Linked DNA regions of Homo sapiens: all the other regions are linked to region 1. Evidence: promoter capture Hi-C in 16 types of primary human blood cells and fetal thymus (Javierre and others, 2016). All regions are on one chromosome and are shown on one strand. Each heading gives the region's core, a stretch centred on a gene start or on the middle of the fragment in contact. The rest is flanking DNA. Distances are from core to core; before and after follow the strand shown.

What was found. The method cuts DNA at HindIII sites, captures the fragments that hold promoters and counts their contacts. A CHiCAGO score of 5 or more calls a contact.
Region 2: a fragment that was not itself captured here is called in contact with the fragment with the promoter of DRC11 in region 1 in 6 of 17 cell types (M2 macrophages, M1 macrophages, monocytes and 3 more); the score reaches 19.9 in M2 macrophages.
Region 3: a fragment that was not itself captured here is called in contact with the fragment with the promoter of DRC11 in region 1 in 3 of 17 cell types (M1 macrophages, M0 macrophages and M2 macrophages); the score reaches 6.2 in M1 macrophages.
Region 4: a contact is called between a fragment that was not itself captured here and the fragment with the promoter of DRC11 in region 1, in 2 of 17 cell types (M2 macrophages and M1 macrophages). The highest score is 6.9, in M2 macrophages.
Region 5: a contact is called between a fragment that was not itself captured here and the fragment with the promoter of DRC11 in region 1, in 1 of 17 cell types (M2 macrophages). The highest score is 5.6, in M2 macrophages.
Region 6: a contact is called between a fragment that was not itself captured here and the fragment with the promoter of DRC11 in region 1, in 1 of 17 cell types (M2 macrophages). The highest score is 6.8, in M2 macrophages.

Annotation. Positions count from the first base shown.
Region 1 is chr2:236,505,426-236,509,020 of GRCh38, reverse strand. It overlaps DRC11 (dynein regulatory complex subunit 11), which reads left to right and starts at 1,545. Exons shown (of 19, transcript NM_024726.5): 1 at 1,545-1,764. The coding sequence starts at 1,754. RefSeq lists a silencer at 1,370-1,419. The HindIII fragment of the contact is 24,475 bases long and covers 1-3,595 here.
Region 2 is chr2:237,017,266-237,020,860 of GRCh38, reverse strand. The region is part of intron 1 of COPS8-DT (COPS8 divergent transcript); the gene reads left to right. Among named protein-coding and RNA genes, the nearest start is that of COPS8-DT, 67 kb to the left of the region's middle. The HindIII fragment of the contact is 4,861 bases long and covers 1-3,595 here.
Region 3 is chr2:236,990,620-236,994,214 of GRCh38, reverse strand. The region is part of intron 1 of COPS8-DT (COPS8 divergent transcript); the gene reads left to right. Among named protein-coding and RNA genes, the nearest start is that of COPS8-DT, 93 kb to the left of the region's middle. The HindIII fragment of the contact is 1,417 bases long and covers 1,158-2,574 here.
Region 4 is chr2:236,951,097-236,954,691 of GRCh38, reverse strand. It overlaps COPS8-DT (COPS8 divergent transcript), which reads left to right. Exons shown (of 3, transcript NR_187934.1): 2 at 709-2,071. Among named protein-coding and RNA genes, the nearest start is that of COPS8-DT, 130 kb to the left of the region's middle. The HindIII fragment of the contact is 181 bases long and covers 1,841-2,021 here.
Region 5 is chr2:236,929,584-236,933,178 of GRCh38, reverse strand. The region is part of intron 2 of COPS8-DT (COPS8 divergent transcript); the gene reads left to right. Among named protein-coding and RNA genes, the nearest start is that of COPS8-DT, 150 kb to the left of the region's middle. The HindIII fragment of the contact is 2,380 bases long and covers 850-3,229 here.
Region 6 is chr2:236,910,519-236,914,113 of GRCh38, reverse strand. It overlaps COPS8-DT (COPS8 divergent transcript), which reads left to right. Exons shown (of 3, transcript NR_187934.1): 3 at 2,939-3,343. Among named protein-coding and RNA genes, the nearest start is that of COPS8-DT, 170 kb to the left of the region's middle. The HindIII fragment of the contact is 2,705 bases long and covers 550-3,254 here.

The DNA.
Region 1 (3,595 bases), core at 296-2,795:
AGTCTTGGTTTTAGACAGTGGATATGCTGCTTCTTTCTGTCTTATTCCTATTTAACACGTGTTGCTCTTTGAAAATGTTCTGTTTGTTCAAATATAATGTGGGCGAATTCTCTTTGACTGTCTTCTCACTGTATCTGAGTTCCAGAGCTGAGATACTGCACTTTTCTCTGCTTTTCTGGAACCTGAGTACACATTTAGGATAAGGACTGCTCCCTTGAATCCACACAACTTCCAGGCTCTGTGCTCTCTTCTGAGATTTTGATAAGCTCCTTTACCACCATCCTCCCACTCTTGTCACGAGTGTGCCCTATTCCTGTGACAACATGCCCTTTGACTTTGAATCTTTGCCTCAATTCAATGTAGGGACCTAGAAAAAGGCAAGCCCTGGAGATTTCTCCTGTCCCTGCTCAGGTCCTGGGAGCGGTAGGGATTGACCTCCACTCAGGATGGTTTTATCTGGCCGGATTTCCCCAGGTGTTTCCTCGTTCGGCTCACCCTTTCATACCCCTTCTTTTCAGTGTGTGTATTCTTTGCATCAAAAAGCATTAATGAGAATTCTTGGTGTTGTGTCTACTTGGTCTCTGCCCCCTGAAGGGCTTTGGGAGGGTGGAGATGAGGCTGGACACCATTCTCCACGGCAAGCTGCTATTTCACTGAGTTTTTGAAGTTTACGGTACAAGGTTGTACTCAATTTCTCGTCTGAGAAATAATTTGCTCCATTATTTGAAGGCGGTGCGGAGGGCTGGCTTTTACTATGCTTTTGCGCATTTCATTAGTAATGGTGGGGGAGAGGTTTTGTGATCCTGATTATAATTTTTACCTGGATGTCCTCTCCACGCCTTTGACAGCATTAAACCTGGCGTTCCAATAGGAGCTGCAGGGTCTAAAATGTGCAAATAAACCTCAACAGTTACTAAAGTCGAAGAAAGAAGAGCAATGAAAGCCAACACTCATAGCGACTTACGGATAACTGTTAATAGCATCCACACTGCATTTTACATTTACAACGCACCCGCGCCTTAGTTCATACTCATTAAGTCTCCGAAGGGCGCGTCTGCCTAAGTCTTGGGTGCCCAGAATCTAAGTCTGCACTTGGCCCAGAATAGATGCCCAGTAAAGTTCTGAACGAACGACTGTTATACCCAGTTTACAGATGGGAAAACTGAAGACCACCATCATTAAGGGCCTTGCCCAAGGCCGCAGAGCTGACAGTGGATGAAAATGGGGCCAGCAGGAAAGCGGGAAGACGGCCTGGAGGACCACAGGCTAAGTGCTGGGGCCCGGAGCAGGCTCGCCAAGCGGCCGGGCCCCGCGACGGAGCGCTCGGACTCCGACCGGCTCCCACAGCTGCGCCCACCCAGGCCTCCCGCGGTGGCGCAGGCGCGGAATGCGGGGGGCGGGGGGGGGGAGGGGGCAGGCGGAAGGCAATGCGCAGGCGCGGCGTTTCCGTTGCTAGGGCCGCGTCGCGCCCACCTGAGTGGCCGAAGTGAGGTTCGCGAGTCTCTGGGTCGCGACGGGAAGGAGTGAAACACCTCTCTGCGCCTGCGCGCTCCGTGCCTGCGAAGCAAACCCGGCCTCACCTTTTCCTGCCCGAAGCAGAAGATTCTCGCAGTCCTGGTTTCTCCCTCCAGAAGACCCCCCACCCAAATCCTCTGTAGCTCCTGGTAGTGCCCTGACCCCTGCTGCCACCGTCCTTCAGAGAGCAACGGAAGAGCTTCCCGGAGGGCGAGGAAAAGAGGGAAAGTAGCCAGCAATGTCGAACGCGTAAGTGATGGGCTCCCAGCCACAGCCATGGAGTGGGCTTCCCCAAGCCAGAAGGTGGCTTGCTTTCTGCTTCTCTTATTTTCTTTTTTCTTTTCTTTTCTCCTCCCCTCTCAACTTCCCTCCTCTCCCCCACTTTTTTTCCTTTTAGGAAATTCAAATATGCCTCGGGATAGAGTATCTGCTTCTTGTGAGCAAGGAAAATCATACACTTAGATCTCCCCCTCCCCTACGCGTCCCACCACCCCATGGGGATGAGCTCCCAGTCTTCCGTATACCTGCCAAGCCCTTAGGGGCTATTGCTGAGAAGCACTATGCCATTTTGTCTGCTTTTTTTGTTAATCTTTCACGGTAACAAATACGGTGCTTTGTGGAAACACCTAGGTCCTGAAATTTAAGTCTAGAAAGATCTTGGGAAAGCATTATTGACATTTGCTTTTCACAGACTCGAGTGGCATTGGTACTGAAAGAAGTGTGTGCCTAGCACTGTGTCGTTTACACAGCACTTGCACAAAGTTACCTCATTTGGTCTTCGTAAGAATAATTTCCAACAGGTATTACAGCGCTGACCCTGTAGACACTGTTCTAACCGCTTCACAGCAACCCTGTAACGTAGGGGCTGTTAATATTGTTATTTCCATTTTACAGATGAGGGAACTTGGGGATGAAGAGGTGAAGTAGTTCACACAGCAAGTGAACAGTGCCAAGCCGGGCACTGTAGCTCCAGCCTGCACTGTTGCTATTACGTGCCCTGTATTCTAGGCAAGGAAATAAGAGCAGAGAGGTTAAAGGCTTGCCAGGGTTTGGAAATGGGGAAGATCAAGAGTTCTGTTTAAGACGTATTGAGTTGGAAGTGCCCATTGGACATCACGTGGAGATGAAATAGGCAATTAAAATATTCAGATCTTGGGTTCAGGAGCGAGACCCATGTCTGAAATATAAACTTGCTCACTGTCAGCCTGTGATGGTCTTTGTGAGACATAGAATGAATATTAATAAAGAGGTGTAAGGACTGATCCTGGGATCATCCACAGTAAGGCTGGGGGAAGAGGAGACCTGGCAAAGGAATCAAAGACATGATCCATGAGGAAGAAGCGAGTGGAAGAAATAATAGTGTTTCCAGGAGAAGTAACTTCTTTCTCCTCCATCAAGTGCTCCTGAGACAAGTTGGGGTAGAACTGAGAACTGACTGTTGATTTGGCAGTGTGGAGTTCACCAGTGACCTTGACAGGAGCTGATTCAGTGGTATGATGAGATAGAAAGACTTACTCAAGTGAATGTAGGGGGAGAGAAACTATAGATGGTGAGCATAGCTAACTCTTTAAAGGAGTTTTGCTGCAGAGGAAAGGAAATATGTTGGCAGCTAGAGGCAGAGGACATGGCTCCAAGACAGAAAACAATAGAATGTTTGTGTGTGGAAGGGAATGGCCCAGAATGATATAGGAGGAGGAGGGAGAAGTGGGTGACATCGTTGGTAGTGAGAGGACATGGGATCCAGGGGGTGCTGGCCTTAGGTAGAGGAACTCAGCACTTAACAATGGAACAGGTAGGAAGGCAGCATCAAGATGCTATTCAGTGGGTGGGTGCTCTGGAGGTGGCCTGGAACGATCATGGTAGATGGAAGATGATGGTGACTGAGGGGCAGTGGTGACAGCATCAGATGAAATGGGATTCAAAGCCTGGGAGTGTTGGGAGGAGGGAAGGCAAATGTCTGGAGGTGCAGTGAAGAGAAGGGGTCCCCTTGACCCAGCCCCACAGCCAGAGACAGAGGGCTCTGGGGGTAACAGGAGCCTCTACTGAGAGGGCTTCTGAGCAGAGACAGGCCTTCCGTAGA
Region 2 (3,595 bases), core at 363-2,862, 510 kb before region 1:
AGTTCAAGACCAGCCTGGCCAAGATGGTGAAACCTCGTCTCTACTAAAAAATACAAAAATTAGCCGGGCATGGTAGTGGGCACCTGTAATCCCAGCTACTCGGGAGGCTGAGGCAGAGAATTACTTGAACCTGGGAGGTGGAGGTTGCAGTGAGCCGAGATCACGCCACTGCTCTCCAGCCTGGGCGACAGAGTGAGACTCCATCTCAAAAAAAAAAAAAAAAAGAAAAAGAAAAAAACCTACAATATGATTTTTAATGTGAGATCCCACCATAGAGGATAAATTAATTGGAAAAAATTCATTCATATGAGCCACCCTGATCTATGCTTCAGGGATATCTCTATACGTGCCTAAGGCCTAAATAACACAATGCACTTTTAGACATCAAAGTCTGAGAAAAAAAAAATGGTGTGTGGAGCCCACAAGATATCAACTACCAAGTTTCTAATTTACAGAGCAGCCTGAAAGGATCAGAGAACATTCTGTAACCATGTCTGAAGTGACCACTGTAAAGTTCTTCAAGCTATGGAAAATATTGAAGTCAAATATTTACAGTACTGAAGGGCCCACATGCAATGGAAAATAACCCCCAAATTAAGAACATCTGGGGGAAAAGTCTAACGAGAGCCAAGCAATGAAAGCAGCAATAAAGATGCAGAATGCATTCGTGGAAGGCTCATGAAGAAGGGAGCCTTTTTTTCTTTTTCTTTTTCTTTTTTGTTCTGTTTTTTAGGTAATGAGGCTACCTTCCTGTGGTGAGCTTCAGGGAAGTGATTTGATTCTGTCTGACTGAGTTTACAAGCTGCCAAACGAAAAAATTGCTACTTCCCATTTCATGAAATACAGTAATTACTGATGTATAGAACTTGTAGACGATCTTAGACATTAAAACACTGGAGAAGTAAAACATATGCATATATAATTATCTAGGATCAATCAATTGAGGAATGTTTTATCTGGGTTATAGAAAAACAAGAAAGGGAGACAATTTAAAGAGAAGAAGAAAAATATTGGCTTTGCTGTAGTCAAGTCCTGGATCCATGTGTTACTTATCATTATTTTAGGCCAGTTGCCTAAACCTCTCCCAGCCTCAGTTTGCACATCTTTAAAATGGGACTCTGATAAAGATTAATTGACAGAATTGCCAGGCATCGTGGCTCATGCCTGTAATCCCAGCACTTTGGGAGGTCAAGGCGGGTGGATCACTTGAAGCCAGGGGTTTGAGACCAGCCTGGTCAACGTGGTGAAATCTCATCTCTACTAATATTCAAAAATCAGCCAGGCTTGGTGGCTCATGCCTGTAATCCCAGTACTTTGGGAGGCCATGGCAGGTGGATCACTTGAGTCCAGGGGTTTGAAACCAGCCTGGTCAACACGGGTGAAATCTCATCTCTACTAATATACAAAGATTCGCCAGGCTTGGTGGAACGTGCCTGTAACCCAGCTACTCTGGAGGCTGAAGCATAAGAATCGCTTGAACTTGGGAGGTGGAGGTTTCAGTGAGCAGAGATTGCACCACTGCTCTCCAGCCTGGGTGACAGAGCAAGACTGTCAAAAAAAAAAAAAAAAAGATTCATTGACAGAATGCAGATGAGGCACACAGCCTATAGAAAGTGCAGACCACCTGGTGTTTGCCATTACTATTATTGTCATTGTGTTGTTGTTATTGTTGTAAGTGTTGTTATTACATTTTTACTTAGGGAAGCAAGGTGTCAGAAGGAGGTTAAGATTCTATCAAACAATAGTGGCCTAATGAAAAGGACTTATAAATTTTTAAGGGTTGAAACTCTCTTGGAAGCCACATAAAATAATGGGGTGAAGTATTTTTTTTCCTTTGATGAGAACAGTTGCATGAATGCACAGGAATGCCCCTGGGGTATGTTAAGATGCTCTCATGTTGAATGTACTTGGGGGGGGGGGCGGGGAAATTAATAAAACCCAATATGAATGAACAAGGCCTCACTCCCCAAGTTTCCTCTAATCTGATATTTATAATAGGACATCATACAAGGGTAGATTCTCACAGCTGCTGTCTAGCTTAATACAAATGGTTTTGAAGTCTTGGATGCCCTTGGATGTGTGTTATTTATACTGTGCATGGTATACTCATTTAGCATTTCCACCTTGAAAACCTCCTGTTACTTAGGCATCGAGAAAACTTTGAAGTTAAGAAAGTTATAAACTTCAAAAGATTGTTATTGGTTGAGTGTACAGGATTATGGTAGGGAATCAGAAGAGGACAAAAGAATCCAGTGGTATTCAAATCATGTTAGAGACCGTTTGATGTCTGCCTGCTGTTTAGGGGCTCAATAGCAAATTGCAAAGAGCTCCTAATCATAGGTATGGTCTAAGTGCCTATTAGAATGCCTTGAGCAGTTAACAGTAGCAGCAAAAGTCTATTAAAAAAAAAAGTCAGAAACATCCAAATTTGTTGTTGGTCAAACAGGTTGGCTTAGTTACTGGCATTGTCAATGACACCAGTGGCTAAAAAACCATGATATATAATGATACGATAGAATACATATAATCATCCTTTCAGAACTGCAAGGGATGGAAGGAGATACCATGTCTGTTCAATGCCTGATGCAAAGCTAATGACTAATTCAAGTTCTTTTTGTTTTTCCTCTTCTTCCCTTCCCAGAAAACCAAATAAGTGTCCCAGTGACATTTTGCCACGGATGTTCCCACTGTTGGAATTACTGTCAACGATACGTGTTTAGTGGGTGAGGACCCAGTTTTCTTCCTGACCTGTAGGAGGGATGGAGGAAGATGGCTCTGGGTGCGGGCAGACATGTGATGGTCAAACCCTGAGGAGGAGGAACTTTCTATGCCTGGGACTGCATCAAAGCCCCTGAGTTACCAGTGATTGTGCATTCCTCTGGAATCCCTCTTTTTTCTGAACCCCAGGTCTTAGAATGGCTGCTCATAATCTAGAACAGGGTGGGACAATCAATAGCACATTTGCACCTCATAGGCCTGAAGATGTAAGTTCAGGGCCCCGTGTTGAGAAGAATCGTAAAGCTCAGTTGGAAAGCAAGCCATGATCAATTAGTGATGCCATTTAGAACTGGGTTTTCATCCACTAAACAAGTAACATTGACAGCAATTCCAACAGTGGAAACATCCATGGCAAAATGTCACTGGGACCCTTATTTGGTTTTCTGGGAAAGGAAGAAGAGGAAAAATAAAAAGAACTTGAATTAGTCACCTGCTTTTCATCAGACATTGAACAGGCACTTTCAGACATGGTATCTCCTTCCCTGCCTTGCAGTAATCAATTATGGAGAAATCAATTAGTGATGTCTGCCACAGGCTAGGGCTAAAGGAAGGCAGCACACGCCAGCTTGTGAGAATTCCTTTCCCTAGTGCAAGGTTTGGTTCAAATACCATCTTACAACCATATCCCAAGATTTAGAATTAAAGCAATATATGAGCTAAAGGGTAATGAGATCATCCCTATCATTGTTTCTATAATGTAGGCAGTTAATTTACTATACTACCTTATATTATAATTTTTTCTTATTCTTACCACCAGATTCTAAGCTCCTTGAAGGCAGGCACTTCTTCTAAATCATCCTTACGTAGCCATGATTCC
Region 3 (3,595 bases), core at 617-3,116, 480 kb before region 1:
CCAAACCAAGATGTGAGTGCAAGTCATGTATTTTAGAGGTGATCCTAGAGAGCCATGGCAAGTGAGTCGGGAAAGGGGTGGGGGAGGGTGGGAAACCAAGGCAGGGAGTTCTTGTAAGCAGGTCCCCACCACCCCCCCGCCCCGAGGGCATTCGGGCTCATCCGCTACATTCTGCTGGGGGAAGAGGAAGCTGGGTATTCACCCACTCGCTGCCTTCCATCATAGTTGAGAGCAGCCCTGGGATATTAACTCCCCAGCTTGGTCAGCCATGCCTGGCCCTGCAGCCATTGAACTCTTTCATGCAGCAGGCACAGGGGTTTGAAGGTCACAAGCCATGGGCATGTGTATGAATGGAGAGTACCTAGGTGATGCTGGTGGGGTGCTGGCAGCATCCATTAAACAGCTGTGCCTCCACTCTTCTCGCTATCCTCTGCTACTGCTTATCATTTCACATCTTTGTTAAATTAATGCTTGTATATATTTTTTAATTTTTAAAGATACTTTTATGTTGCTCAGGCTGGTCTCAAACTCCTGACTTCAAGTGATCCTCCTGTCTCAGCCTCCCAAAATGCTGGAATTACAGGCATGAGCCACTGCACCTGGCCAGTGCCTTGTGTCTTATTTCTGCTAAACTGCTGTGGCTTCACGCTATTACACTTTCCCTCCCTCCTTCCTTCCCCCTACTTTCTCTTTCCTGCCTGCAAACATTTAATGAATGACCACTCATTTCAGGCCCTGGTGATGAAAGATGACTGGACCTTTATGTGCACAGATTCTTCATGACACTGTATTGGCAAGGCTAGGAGACAGGCATGCATGAAATACTGTGGAACATGGAGCTAGTGTCTTCTAGCTTGAAAGTAACTGCCAGGGAACTGGATGAAGTGACTCCTGAAAAGGCAGTGCAAAAATGTGCGTCAAGCTCAGAGCATGCAAGGTGCTGGTTGAAGGTGACGTTTGATTATGACAGCAGGTGACAGGTGGGCTGATGTGTTATGAGGAGTCTCTGCTGCTGCAAGTTCCCATCACTTTCCCAGCAAAGAAGTGAGGAGATGAATGACCTCCGCTGTTGAGGATGGAGGAGGCTACAGTACATGCTCTATTGATGCATTTTCCAGGTGGAATTTGGGTCATAGCGTAAACAGTTTGTGAAAGCTTGAAGGAAGACATATGACAGACGACATGCTCTTCAAACAAAGTAAGGCCACTGTCACCTCTCCTTAAATCCCGTCCTTCCCAGAGAATGTTCCCTGAGTGTCTAATGTGTACATAACATATCATTCAGCCAGATGTTCAAGCCAACCTTTTGTGGACCTCTCTGTCATCCCTTGAACTCAAACTTCACTGTATATGATGAACCCTGGGGAGCCTATTATAATGATATTCCTAGGCCCTGTTCCAAACCTACTGAATCAGAATCTCCGCTGGTGGTCCCAGTACTCTCGAGTTTAGGCACTTCTTATGCAGCCAACTGTGCTTTCTCTGGGTTAGAGGAATGATACACACTCATTCATCCATCTATTTATGTATCTGCCCATCCATCCACCCATCCATTTATCCACCCATCCACCCATCCATCCATTTATCCATCCATCTATCCATCCATCCATCCATTCAACCATTTATCTATCCATTATCCATCCCCATCTGTCCATAAATTCATCCATTCGTCTATCCATTTATTCATTTAAAAATATTCATTGAGGACCTGCTATGTGCAATGCACAGTGCTAGGCAGTGGAGCTACCGAACAAAACAGACAATAACTCCTGCCGTCAGAAATGTCACTTTCTTGGGAGGGAGGCAGAGAAGAAAGTGCCAGATAGGTCAGGTGTGTGGTATGTCAACAGTAGTAAGTGTTATGGGAAACCTAAAGCAGGGGAGAGGGATGTGGAATGTAAAGGGGCAGCTGAAATTTTAACAACAGTGGTTGGAAAAAGTTCCTCTGAGAAGGTGACATTGCATTGAAGACTTAAGGCAAGACAGCCCACCATCAACATGCTCACTGGGGAGAGAATTCCCCACAGAGGGACCAGCTACATCTGGCAAGGCTCTAGAAATAGAGAGAAAGCCAGCACACCTGAGCTGGGTGAGTCAGAGGTGAGGGTTGGGTGTGAGGTCAGAGAGGTAGGGAGAAGCTGAGGCCACTGGGGGACTTTGGGTTTTTCCCTGGTTGAGATGAGAAGCTCTTGGAGGAACTGGAGCCATGGAGTCCCATGATCTGATTCATGCTTTAACAGGATCTCTCGGGCTGCTGTGTTTAGAATAAACAGAAAGGTAGGGAGGTAGATTTAGGTAGCCTGGTTGGGAGGCAACCACAATGAAGTTCTAAGACCAGCAGAGAGTGTTCAATTTTTTTTTTGCTTTAACAAAAGGATTTTCATTCCGAAATGGATGTGACAAATAAGCAATAAAACATACGAAAAATACAAAATATACTCCAGGTAGAAGATGCTGGGTCTATTAGTCCATTCTCATGCTGCTATGAAGAAATACCCAAGACTGGGTAATTTATAAAAGAAAGAGGTTTAATTGACTCACATTTCTGCAGGGCCGGGGAGGCCTCAGGAAGCTTAAAATCATGGTGGAAGGGGAAGCTAACATCCTTCTTCACATGGCGTCAGCAAGAAGGGCAGAGTGAAGTGGGAGAAAATCTCCTTATAAAACCATCAGATCTCTTGAGAACTTACTCACTATCATGAGAAGAGCATGGCAGCTACCACCCCCATGATTCAGTTACCTCCCACCAGGTCCCTACCATGACACATGGGGATTATAGGAACTACAACTCGAGATGAGATTTGGGTAGGGACACAGCCAAACCATACCACTGGGTATCACAAGGCCACCCCAGGCTGACTGTGCACCCTACAATCCTAAGGGCACCGTTGCACACATGTTGGAGCTGTGCATGCAATGGCCCTGCTTGGGCTGGGGAATTAGCAGGAAATGAGGGGAAAGGGCTGGGACTCTGAATATGTTTGGAAGGTAAAGCCAACAGGCTGTCTAGCAAGATCCCTTTCACCGTGGAAACGGAATCATCTTTTGTCATTTACCTCATGTGGGTCCCCTTTGCAGAGCAGGTTCAGGGTAGGACTTTCATTTGGATTCTCAAGAACCAGCAGAAAGTCACCGAGTGCTGCCCTGTTTTTGTCATCAGTCATCAATCTCCCAAAAGCCTAGGGAAGACAATGTGGAGAATGAGCCCAGATGTATCTTTGGAGACAAGGTGCCCATTAATAGAATGTCATATTTAGTCAATGACATTGTAAGAATTTGTAAGTGTTTTCTGAAGGGAAAAACATTTTGTCTTTGATGGATTTTCTGTTTTACAGACATAATTAATCACATGTGTTAAGAAATCAATTTCTTTAATAGCAAAAATAATCTGTTTTGCCAACTGGAAACACCACTTTCATTTAAGAAACACTCTCCACCAGTTGATTGTACTTCTTGGCGCCAGAAGCAAGGATGCTGTCCGTGTGCTCAGATTATAATGATTTACTGAAGAAATATGAAGTTCTCAGACCAGCAGAGAGTGTTCAAATGCTTTTGCTTTAACAAAAGGATTCTCATTCATAAATACATGTCACAA
Region 4 (3,595 bases), core at 682-3,181, 450 kb before region 1:
TGTTCTCATCTCACATGGACCCTGAGGGGTTGGGGTAGGACCAAGGAGAGGAGAAAGCTCCAGAGCCCCTCAAGGTCAAGTCTACCCTTTTCATGTTTCTCCTCCAGGATTTCATACAGTGCCCAGCACAAAGTAGATGTCCAGTGTGTATATCTTAAAAGGACCCTTAGAAGGTTCTCGGAGAAAAAAAAGGTCCTTTTGTGATCTTCCTTTTCTTAAGGTGACAAACTCCAAATTCATGCTGTAAAAAGCCTGAAATCAAACAACCATGTCTCCTTTTTCCTTTGCATACTTAAGAGGTGAAATGAACTGCAGGGTGGCCTCCCAGGACCTGCCATCCCAACCTCCTTGTGTCAATTCAGCAGCTGTGGAGTTTTGGGAAGAGCAACTCCATCCCCAATTCCTTGACTGGACAAGCCTATTCCCAGTACAGTGGATAGGGCAGGTCAATTAGGCCTTGGCTAATCAGAGCCTGCCTTTCTCTGGGATATGGGGTTGGTTCAGGAGTGTTCCAATTGACTCAAATCTTATGGAGGTGAATGAGGACACGTGTAGACTTGGTGACTGCTGCCATCTTCCAATCGTGGATGTCGGAGGTGGCAAGTACAGAGAGATGGGCAGGGCTGAGAAAATGGCAAAGAAATAGAGACAGAGTTAAGATCAAATATTGCCTAAATGTCACACCCATCTCTGTTTTCTTTTTTTTAGGTGCCATGATAAATAAGCCAGTTTGAGTCACTTGGTCTAATATCGAGACCACGAACATATTGATCACAGAATGTGTTAGGTAAGCATGTTGTTGACTGAAGTGTAAGTAAGGTGCTCACCTTAAATGCATGTGCCAACATCAGCATCTTCAGAAGAGTCTCTTTCCCTTTGGGACATCGAGGTGACTGACAGTTAAACAAGCCGTATTTGGAGTAGGTGTACAATCAGCCTCCTTCCAGTTCTCCTTGGCACTTTCCAGTTCACAAAGGACACTTCACTCCTTTTTGGTTTTTTTGAGACAGGGTCTCACTCTGTCACCCAGGCTAGAGTACGGTGGTGAGATCACCCCTCACTGCAACCTCCGTCTCCTGGGCTCAAGTGATCCTCCCACCTCAGCCTCCCAAGTAGCTGGTACCACAGGTGCATGCCACCACACCTGGCTGATTTTTGTATTTTGTGTAGAAGGGGGTATTGCCCTATCGCCTAGGCTGGAAGGCTGTTAAGAGGAGAACTGAGCAATGAGGATCCCATCCTGGACTTCGCAGACTTGCTGTGCTTTTGAATGCTTCTCTCACGGTCAGAGCCTGCACTGGAAAAGATGGCATTTGGGACAACACACCTGGCTGCTGCCCCAGGAAGAAAGTAGTGAACACTGGAGGACTGTCAGCCCTGTCAGTTTCTGGAAATGTGCCCTGAGTTTAAGTTCTGGTTTCAGATTATGAGGAGCAAAATTACTGAGTAGGCCTCCTCCTAGAACAGGAAGCTCTTCCCGCTGTGGGCCAGTGGCTCTGACATATCACAGAGCCTGCTCTGATGAAGGCAGCAGGAATGATTTCAAAACAAGCAAAACCAAAGAAAACTGTTTGACAATGGAAGTAATAGAGGCTCATTTTAGAAAACATAGACATAAAGAAAAAAAGAAGAATCTTCCATAACCCACAGATTATAACTACTTACATACCTTCCAGGCTTTATTTCTCTTTTTTAAAAAACAAATGTTAAAGTGGAATTTACCTATAAAAAAGATACAGGTCCTAAGAGCACAGCTTGGCTTGATCAATTTTCTCAAGTTGAATGCACCTGTGCAATCAGTGCCAGGCTGAACACACAGCCTCAGCAGCGCCTGGAAGCTTTTCCAAGCCTCCTTATTGTCATCCCTCCCTCCCCAGGGGTAGCTGCGATCACTGTAGCTTTGGTCTGAACTATATATAAATGCAATCATGCCACGTTATGTTTCTGAGACTCACCCACACCCTGGCAAGCCATTGCAGTTTGTTTATTCTCAATGTTCTACAAGCAGCAGTCCCCAAGCTTTTTGGCACCGGGGACCAGTCTCATGGAGGACGATTTTTCCGCAGACCAGGTGGGGATGGTTTTGGAATGATTCAAGCACATTCCATTTATTGTGCACTTTATTTCTATTACTGTTGCATTGTAATATATAATGAAATAATTATATAACTCACCATAATGTAGAATCAGTGGGAACCCTGAGCTTGTTTTCCCCCATCTAGATGGTTTCATCTAGGGGTGGGGGGATGAAAGACAGTGACAGATTATCAGGTATTAGATTCTCATAAGAAGCTTGCAACCTGGATTCTTCGCATGCTTAGTTCACAGTAGGGTTCACGCTCCTATGAGAATCTAATGCTGCCACAGAACTGACAGGAGGCAGAGCTCAGATGGTAATGCTCACTTGCCCACTGCTCACCTCCTGCTGTGCAGCCCTGTTCCTTACAGGCCATGGACTGGTACCACACAACTATTTGGCCATAGCTACAAAAGCTGATTACAGGTGTAATTACAGATTACATCACTATTACATAGCCTACAAAGAGGTTTAATTGGACTTATAAGTCCACATGACTAGGGAAGCTTCACAATCATGGCGGAAGGCAAGGAGGAGCAAGTCACATCTTACATGGAGGGCAGCAGGCAAAGAGAGAGCTTGTGCAGGGAGACTCATTTTTCAAAACCATCAGATCTTGTGAGACTTATTCACTATCATAAGAACAGTGTGGGAATTACAAATTACATAGCTATGTAGTTACAAATTACATAGCTAATTACACCTGTAATCAACTTTTGTAGCTATGGCCAAATAGTTTTCCCAAGTGGTTGCACCAATTTACACTCCCACCAACAGTACATGATCCTGCTGGCAGCTCAATCTACATTCTTATTAACTGCATTAGTCCATTTTCACGTTGCTGATAAAGACATACCTGAGACTGGGCAATTTACAAAAGAAAGAGGTTTAATTGGACTCACAGTGTGTGACTGGGGAAGCCTCACAATCATGGTGGAAGGCAAGGAGGAGCAAGTCACGTCTTATGTGGATGGCAGCAGGCAAAGAGAGAGCTTGTGCAGGGAGACTACCATTTTTCAAAACCATCAGATCTTGTGAGACTTATTCACTCTCATGGAACAGCATGGGAAAGACCTGCCCCCACAATTCAATTACCTCGCACCAGGTACCTCCCACAACACATGGGAATTCAAGATGAGATTTGGGTGGGGACACAGCCAAACCATATCATCGACCCTTTGTTTTTCCCCATCTTTTTCATTTTAGCCATTCTTTTCATGTGTATTAGACATTTGGATAGCCTCATTTGTGAAATGTCTCATTTTTTCTACTAGGCTTTTCATCTCTTTATTGATCTAAAACATTTTTAATATATTAGACATATGTATTGCAAATCTCTTCTTCTACTGTGGAAGTGGCTTTCATTTCTATTCATTTCAGACTGTTTTAATGCTATCTTATTTCTTTCTTTATGATTCAGCACTCTTTGTGTCCTGCTTAAGAACTCTTTGTCTATTTCATGTTCATTAAAATGTGATTTTTTTCTACAGTCTTCATTATTTTTCCTTTAACATTTAA
Region 5 (3,595 bases), core at 790-3,289, 420 kb before region 1:
CAGGCGCGTAAGGCAATGTACAGCTGGAACATCTGGCCTTATAAAACTAAAAATAACACCCCATAAAATACATTTTACTCATTTATTTTGACAACTGGAACACACTTTCCATTACTTATGACTCTAAGTCTCCCTGGTGCAAGAGTCCTGCCATTATGTGCTGTGGGATCAACATCGCCTTGGTCACATAGATTCGCCGCTGTCCCTTCCTCCTGGTTTCCCGATGGTCAGGAACTCTGACTCTGCTCAACGTACAGCTTCAGCTTAAAAGGCCCTTCCCCCTCCTGTGTTTATTGCAATCCTATTTCTTCCTTGAGACTCCCTCCCAGAGGCTACTCTCTCTTCTTTGAGACTCACTCCCCGAGGCTACTCTCTCTTCCTTGAGGCTCCCCCTACCCGAGGCTACTCTCTCTTCTTTGAGACTCCCCCCTCTACCCCGAGGCTACTCTGTCTTCTTTGAGACTCCCCCCACCCCCAGGCTACTCTCTCTTCTTTGAGACTCCCCCCCTCCCTCAGGCTACTATCTCTTCTTTGAGACTCCTCCTGCCCCCAGGCTACTCTCTTCTTTAAGACTCCTCCCACCCGAGGCTACTCTCTCTTCTTTGAGACTCCCTCCCCGAGGCTACTCTCAGGCTACTTCATGAGCTCTTATATAGGAAGATGCTGCCATCTTGTTTGCCACTTTCCACCCTTTTTCCTTGGTCATTTATTCAGTTGAGTCAATGCCCCATATTCACAGAAAACATTCACACTGGGTGTTTGTCTCCCACTTCGCTCCAAGACTCACCCTTATTCTGGATGATTTGGATGTCCCTTGTCCTTGACCAGATGGCCATTGTTCTTTAAGCTTCTGAACCCATTGGCACGTTCTTTCACTTCACTTTGGACATTTGGTATCAAGGCCCTATTTTGGACATGTCCCTGTAATTTATCTACTTCTAAAATCTTAAATTCCTCTGCCCTAGGAGTTCTCTGACTACAATCTCCCATCATCCCAGCTCTTTCTTTCTCTGGTCCCTTTCCTTCTGTTCGAGACTCAGAAAAATCTCCAAGAAGTTGTTCCTTTGGTCATCTCACAATAGACCTGCTCCCCTCTCTCTCACTTTCACTATTCTGATAATATTCAGCCCAGATTTGGGCTGCCACAACATTCATATTCTTGCACAGATCCTCAAGTCATTCTCTTCTTTGTCTTTGTCCCTCTATTTCTCCCTTCCAGGAAAGCCCAATGATGATTCTCCCTGCTCTACATAGCACTGTGGAGCTTCCAGATTCAACCCATACTTCAGAGCTGCCTGGCCATCCCTCTGTGTGGTCCTTGGTGGCAGCCTCTTCTCATATTCTGCAGAAATCTAGGACAGCTCTCTCAAACTTTTACCCTTTTCCCCAAACTCTGATTTCGTCTCCTTTTGCCCCTCAGTTTGGAAAGGCCATGCTGATATTAACAAAAAGGGACCCTTGGAGTCTCAGAACTCTCTCAACTTTCTTCCTGCTTCTACACATACCTGCATGAACACACAACCTTGCATCCTTGCTTCCTTCTCTCCAGTCACGAAATAATAGTTGACTCCTGAAGGAATTACCCTCTGCACCTGTTCTGGATCTCATTCCTTTCCTGTCTCTAGGGATCTGCACTCATCAGTCATACTCACTCCATCCTCAGTCCACAATCATAACTACTGAGTCTTTTTATTCAGTATTTGAATATTCTCAAGACTCTTTTATCTTTAAAATAATCTGAATTCTTACTTCACCTGTCAATGGATAGACTTGGGCCTTTATATCTTCTTCAAACCTTTACATTCCAATGCTTAACAGTCACACATTCACCCATTTTTCTGTTTATCCATTTAGCCACCTCTCCATTCAAACAAGTAAGTTTTTAATATCTCTACTATGCCTGGAAACAACTGGAAACATGTTTATACAGTAATGTTCATCACAGCATTATTAATTATAATAAAATTAAGCAAACTGCCAGAATGTCTGAAAATGGAATGGTTAAATACAATAGGGTAAAAATCAGATTTTTAAAGGCATTTAATGATACAGGGGAGAATTCAAGCTACAGCAAATAGCAAATGACAAAGCAGGACAGAACAATTTATGCAGTGAAATCCATACTTGTGCTAAAGAGAACATAAACATATAATTAGAAGAAAAGATTCCAAAAAGGTCTTATCTACGATTATGAAAATCTTAATTTTTTTATATACTTTAAGTTCTGGGGTACATGTGCATAACGTGCAGGTTTGTTATATAAGTATACATGTGCCATGGTGGTTTACTGCACCCATCAATCCATCATCTACATTAGGTATTTCTCCTAATGCTATCCCTCCCCTAGCCCCCCACCCCCTGACAGGCCCCAGTGTGTGACATTCCCCTCCCTGTGTCCATGTGATCTCATTGTTCAACTCCCACTTACGAGTGAGAACATGCAGTGTTTGGTCTTCTGTTCTTGTGTTAGTTTGCTGAGAATGGTGGTTTCCAGCTTCATCCATGTCCCTGCAAACAACATGAACTCATCCTTTTTATGGCTGCACAGTATTCCATGGTGTATATATGCCACATTTTCTTTATCCAGTCTATCACTGATGGGCATTTGGGTTGGTTCCAAGTCTTTGCTATTGTGAACAGTGCCACAATAAACATACGTGTGCATGTGTCTTTATAGCAGCATGACTTATAATCCTTTGGGTATATACCCAGTAATGGGATTGCTAGGTTAAATGGTATTTCTAGTTCTAGATCCTTGAGGAATCACCACACTGTCTTACACAATGGTTGAACTAATATACACCCCTACCAACAGTGTAAAAGTGTTCCTGTTTCTCCACATCGTCTCCAGCATCTGTTGCTTACTGACTTTTTAATGATTGCCATTCTAACTGGCATGAGATGGTATCTCATTGTGGTTTTGATTTGCATTTCTCTAATGACCAGTGATGATGAGCAGAAAATCTTAATTGTTTTTAGAAGTTTTAGTTTGAAAACTTCAGTGATCATATATTTATAATGAACAATAAATATTAACTAGTTCTAAATATTGACTGAAAGAAGGTACAGCTTCAGTTGGAAACAACAGTAGTAGTAGCAAACACATATTTACTACACAATGTTTACTATGAGGCAATGCATAGTAAGATTAACTCCTTTAAACCTTATAGCAATCCTGTGGTGTGAGAATCATCAATAGCTCCATCTTAGAGATGAGGAAACTGAAGCTTATAGAGACTACGCACCTGGCTTTTGGTCATGCTGGAGGTGTGACTGTCAGGATCCAGGTCACTGCTCTGTATGTATAATTTTTTGGTATTATATTTGTTCAAAAATATTATATGTAAATATATTTTTTCATGTTGTTAATTATGTTTTTTGGGGTTTTTTGTTTTTGTTTTTTGGCTTTTCTGTTGAGACAGAGTTTTATCCTGTCACCCAGGCTGGAGTGCAGTGGCACGATCTCCACTCACTGCAACCTCCACCTTCAAGGTTCAAGCAATTCTCGTGCCTCAGCCTCCCAAGTAGCTGGGACCACAGGTGCATGCCACCATGCCTGGCTAATTTTTTTTTTTTTTTTTTTTTTTTAGTAGAG
Region 6 (3,595 bases), core at 653-3,152, 400 kb before region 1:
GACCCCAGAATAAGACCACCTGGGTGAGCCTGTGCCTGGTGGTCTCAAAGCATCCCCCTCCTCCCATCCACCCCTGCTCTGCCCTGTATCATGGGGGGTCTGGCCTCTGCAGGCTATGAGCCCCGGGTTCCTGTGTCTCTGGCTTCTGACTGGGTTGGACCAATGGGAAGCCTGGAGGGACATGGGTGTGTACAGGAGTCTGGGTGGGCTTCTTGACTCTGTTTGTTGGGCTGTCTTGCCTGGAGGCTCTTTCCTTCTACAAGCCAGCTCCTGCCACAGAGACCCACCCTGGTTCTAGCTTCCCTTCAGTGAGTCTGATTCCTGGGCTCTGATAACTGCCTCCTTCCTTGTGCATCTGAGAGGTGGTAGCCACTTCCTGATGCTGTGGACACCAGGGTTGCCTCAATGTCCCTTGTCTGACGTTTTGGCTCTTCTACCATCTAGGAAGTCCCTGTAATTAAATTTTCTGTCTTATAAAACTTAGGATGACTGTTTATCCTCACTGGGTCCTGACTTAGTCACTTACTACTGTGTGGTTGTGGTCAAGCTTCTTTCTCCTGCTATGTTCAGTTTCCTCATCTGGAAAGCGGGATAATAATGGGTTCTTCCTTAGAGAACTCACCCCAGAGTGAGTTAAATAAGATAATACTCAGAGTTTGTTACTTGGAACTCACACAGTAAGTGGTAGATTTTGGAGTCTGTACCAGAGGGTCCTGAGGTGTGGGCTGAGGGTGATCTTTGGTGGTGCCTGTTCACTGGATTCAACAACTGCCAATCACAGAGTGAGGAAGTTGTTCACTTTTCAGGTGGTTCTGTTTTTTTCTGTCTCTCTTCTTCTGGATACAATAAAAGCTGCTCTCTGTTCCTAGTATGTCTTTAGAACTTGGAGTCTCCATGACCACGGGAGAAAGAGCAGGTCTCAGACTGAGGAAGTAGGACCCAACAGCATTGTTCTGTTTACATGGAATTTGCTTTTACAGCCAAATTCTACTGATGGCAAATGATACAGTTTTCCATTTCTGGAGGTGATAAAAAGTTTTTTTAATAATGAATTCATTTAAGTTTTTTGTTTTTTTTTAAAAAAAGATCGACTTGGAAAAACAGAAGTAAAAGAGTGCAGTTGGGAGGAGCTTGATGACCTGAGCTTAGAAGGCCTTTCCTGCAGACGTGCTCTGGGGCTAGTGGGTTGAATCAGGACACAGAACAACAAAGACAGTTTCTGCTTTCAAGGAGCGCATGGTTCTCAGCCAAATTCAACAGGAATAATATGACAGAACATAATTAAATAGCAAGTAATTTGTTACAGATGCAAATTCTGCAAAAGTTCAAAGACGCATGGGCCAACGGGGTCAGGAGAAGGCGGGATGGAGGAGGCGACTTAACAGGAGAGATTCCCGGTGGTGGGCACAGGTGCAGAGAAACGGGGACCTGGATTAGGGGAGCAAAGGAGAGCTAGCGTGACGGTGTGGCAAAAATGGGTTTTGAGTTTCTGGAGTAGAGATCCAGGTCGGTGTCAGAGGTGCTGGGGGTTCTGGGAAGGAAAATGATGACAAGTTGACGACAGGAAACGTGGAGTTCTGCATCATTAAGCGTCAGTTTCACGGGATGCTGTAGTCCTGGCAGAATCGTTTTTGGCTGTGGTGTGCAGGAGGGGTCTGCGGCTGAGCCACTGCAGAAGGGCTGGCCAGCTGGGAGGCTGGGAGGCAGATGCTGTAACCCTGGTGTGACCCTGTCCCTGCAGAGAGAGAGCCAGGGAAGGGGCCAGGTGAGCAGGGCCAGGGGGCAGCAGCACCATCATCCAGGGCACTCAGGGGTTAAAGCCTCATCTGGGGACACAGTGAGGAGCTGATCCCGGAAGGAAGAGGCTACGTAGTTCATATCAGACCATGCACACACACACACACACACACACACACACACACACACACACACCAGAGATCCAACTCTTCCTACAGTTTCTCACCAAGAAAGGTCATGGCTGGGTTGAAGAAAGTGAGGCAGGAGTGTTTTCCTTGCAAGGAACATTTGTGTGAAGAGGTCTCTCCCAAGGGTGCTCATATCAGGCAAAAGGTTCTGTCTGTGGGATCCCTGATCCATCTGATCTCCATCCTGCAGGAGCCTTGCTCTTCCTCATGGAGACGCGTTTGCATCTAGAGGGAAAATTGTGAGTAAAAGCCATGACTACAAAATGCACATGTGGATTCCACCGTGGAAAAGTGGGGAGCCCGGGGCCGGGCACAGCATCCGAAATGAAGGTGTGTCACAGGACAGTCGCATGCTCAGGCTGCCTCAACAGAGAAATAGGTGAAGGAGAGCATTTCTCTTTCCACAACTGACAAGAATTCTGTCTTAACGTGGACTGTTTTTGTCGTTGTTGTTGTTGTTTTTTATTTGAGACGGAATCTCACTGCGACACTCAGGCTGGAGTGCAATGGCACGATCTCAGCTCACTGCAACCTCTGCTTCACTTCCCAGGTTCAAGCAATTCTCCTGCCTCAGCCTCCCAAGTAGCTGGGATTACAGGTGTGCACCACCACATCTGGCTAATTTTTGTATTTTTAGTAGAGATGGGGTTTCACCGCATTGACCAGGCTAGTTTCAAACTCCTGATCTCAAGTGATCTGCCCACCTCAGCCTCCCAAAATACTGGAATTACAGGCGTGAGCCACCGCGCCCTGCCTGTTTTCCTTTGTAGTTTTAAATTTGGTAGTCAGGATTTTATATTTTGCTGCAAATGACATGAGAAAATTCAAAGAATCACATAAAATCACGCTCTCCTCTGCCTGCTGTCACTTGCCATCTATCAGTGGCACCAATCTTCAGCGGTGGCCATAACTAAATAGCCCATGCTCCTCAGCGGGGCCACACACGTGCAATGCAGTTACAATGTGTAACACGAATACACAACATTTACAGAACAAATTTTCCTCTTTTCCAGAAACTATAAACATTGAAAGGAATGCTGGGGCCTCCAAAATCTGCGATTACATTTCTCGTAAATGGCAACTCATTGTCATCCTGCAGACATGGATTAAACCACAGGATGGGGTCTGAACCGGGAACACTTGCAGGTTAACAGCAACAACATCCACTCCAACAGAATCACCCCCGTCACAGTGAGCAATGAGCAAAAACATGGCTCAGAAACAGTTTCCCCAGATGTTCAATAAAGGACATTTAAATGAGACATTTACCATCTGGTTAATAACATAGCATTGAGTGGGACTTGGTAACAATATCCCAATACGTAAGCTTTTAAAATCAGTTCTTTTCCCTGAGCATAAAACTGCTTCTCCATCTGCCCTATGAAAACAGGCGATAAATAAATGTTTGTTCAACCTCATTCCTGTCAAAGTCATTGTTCTTTAGGGGGGAAAAATACATATATATATATATATATATATATATATATATATATATATGTATATATGTGTGTGTGTGTATATATATATGTATATATGTGTGTGTATATATATGTATATATTTGTGTGTGTGTATATATATGTATATATTTGTGTGTGTGTGTGTGTGTATATATATATATGTGTATATATATGTATATATATGTGTATATATATATGTATATATATATGTG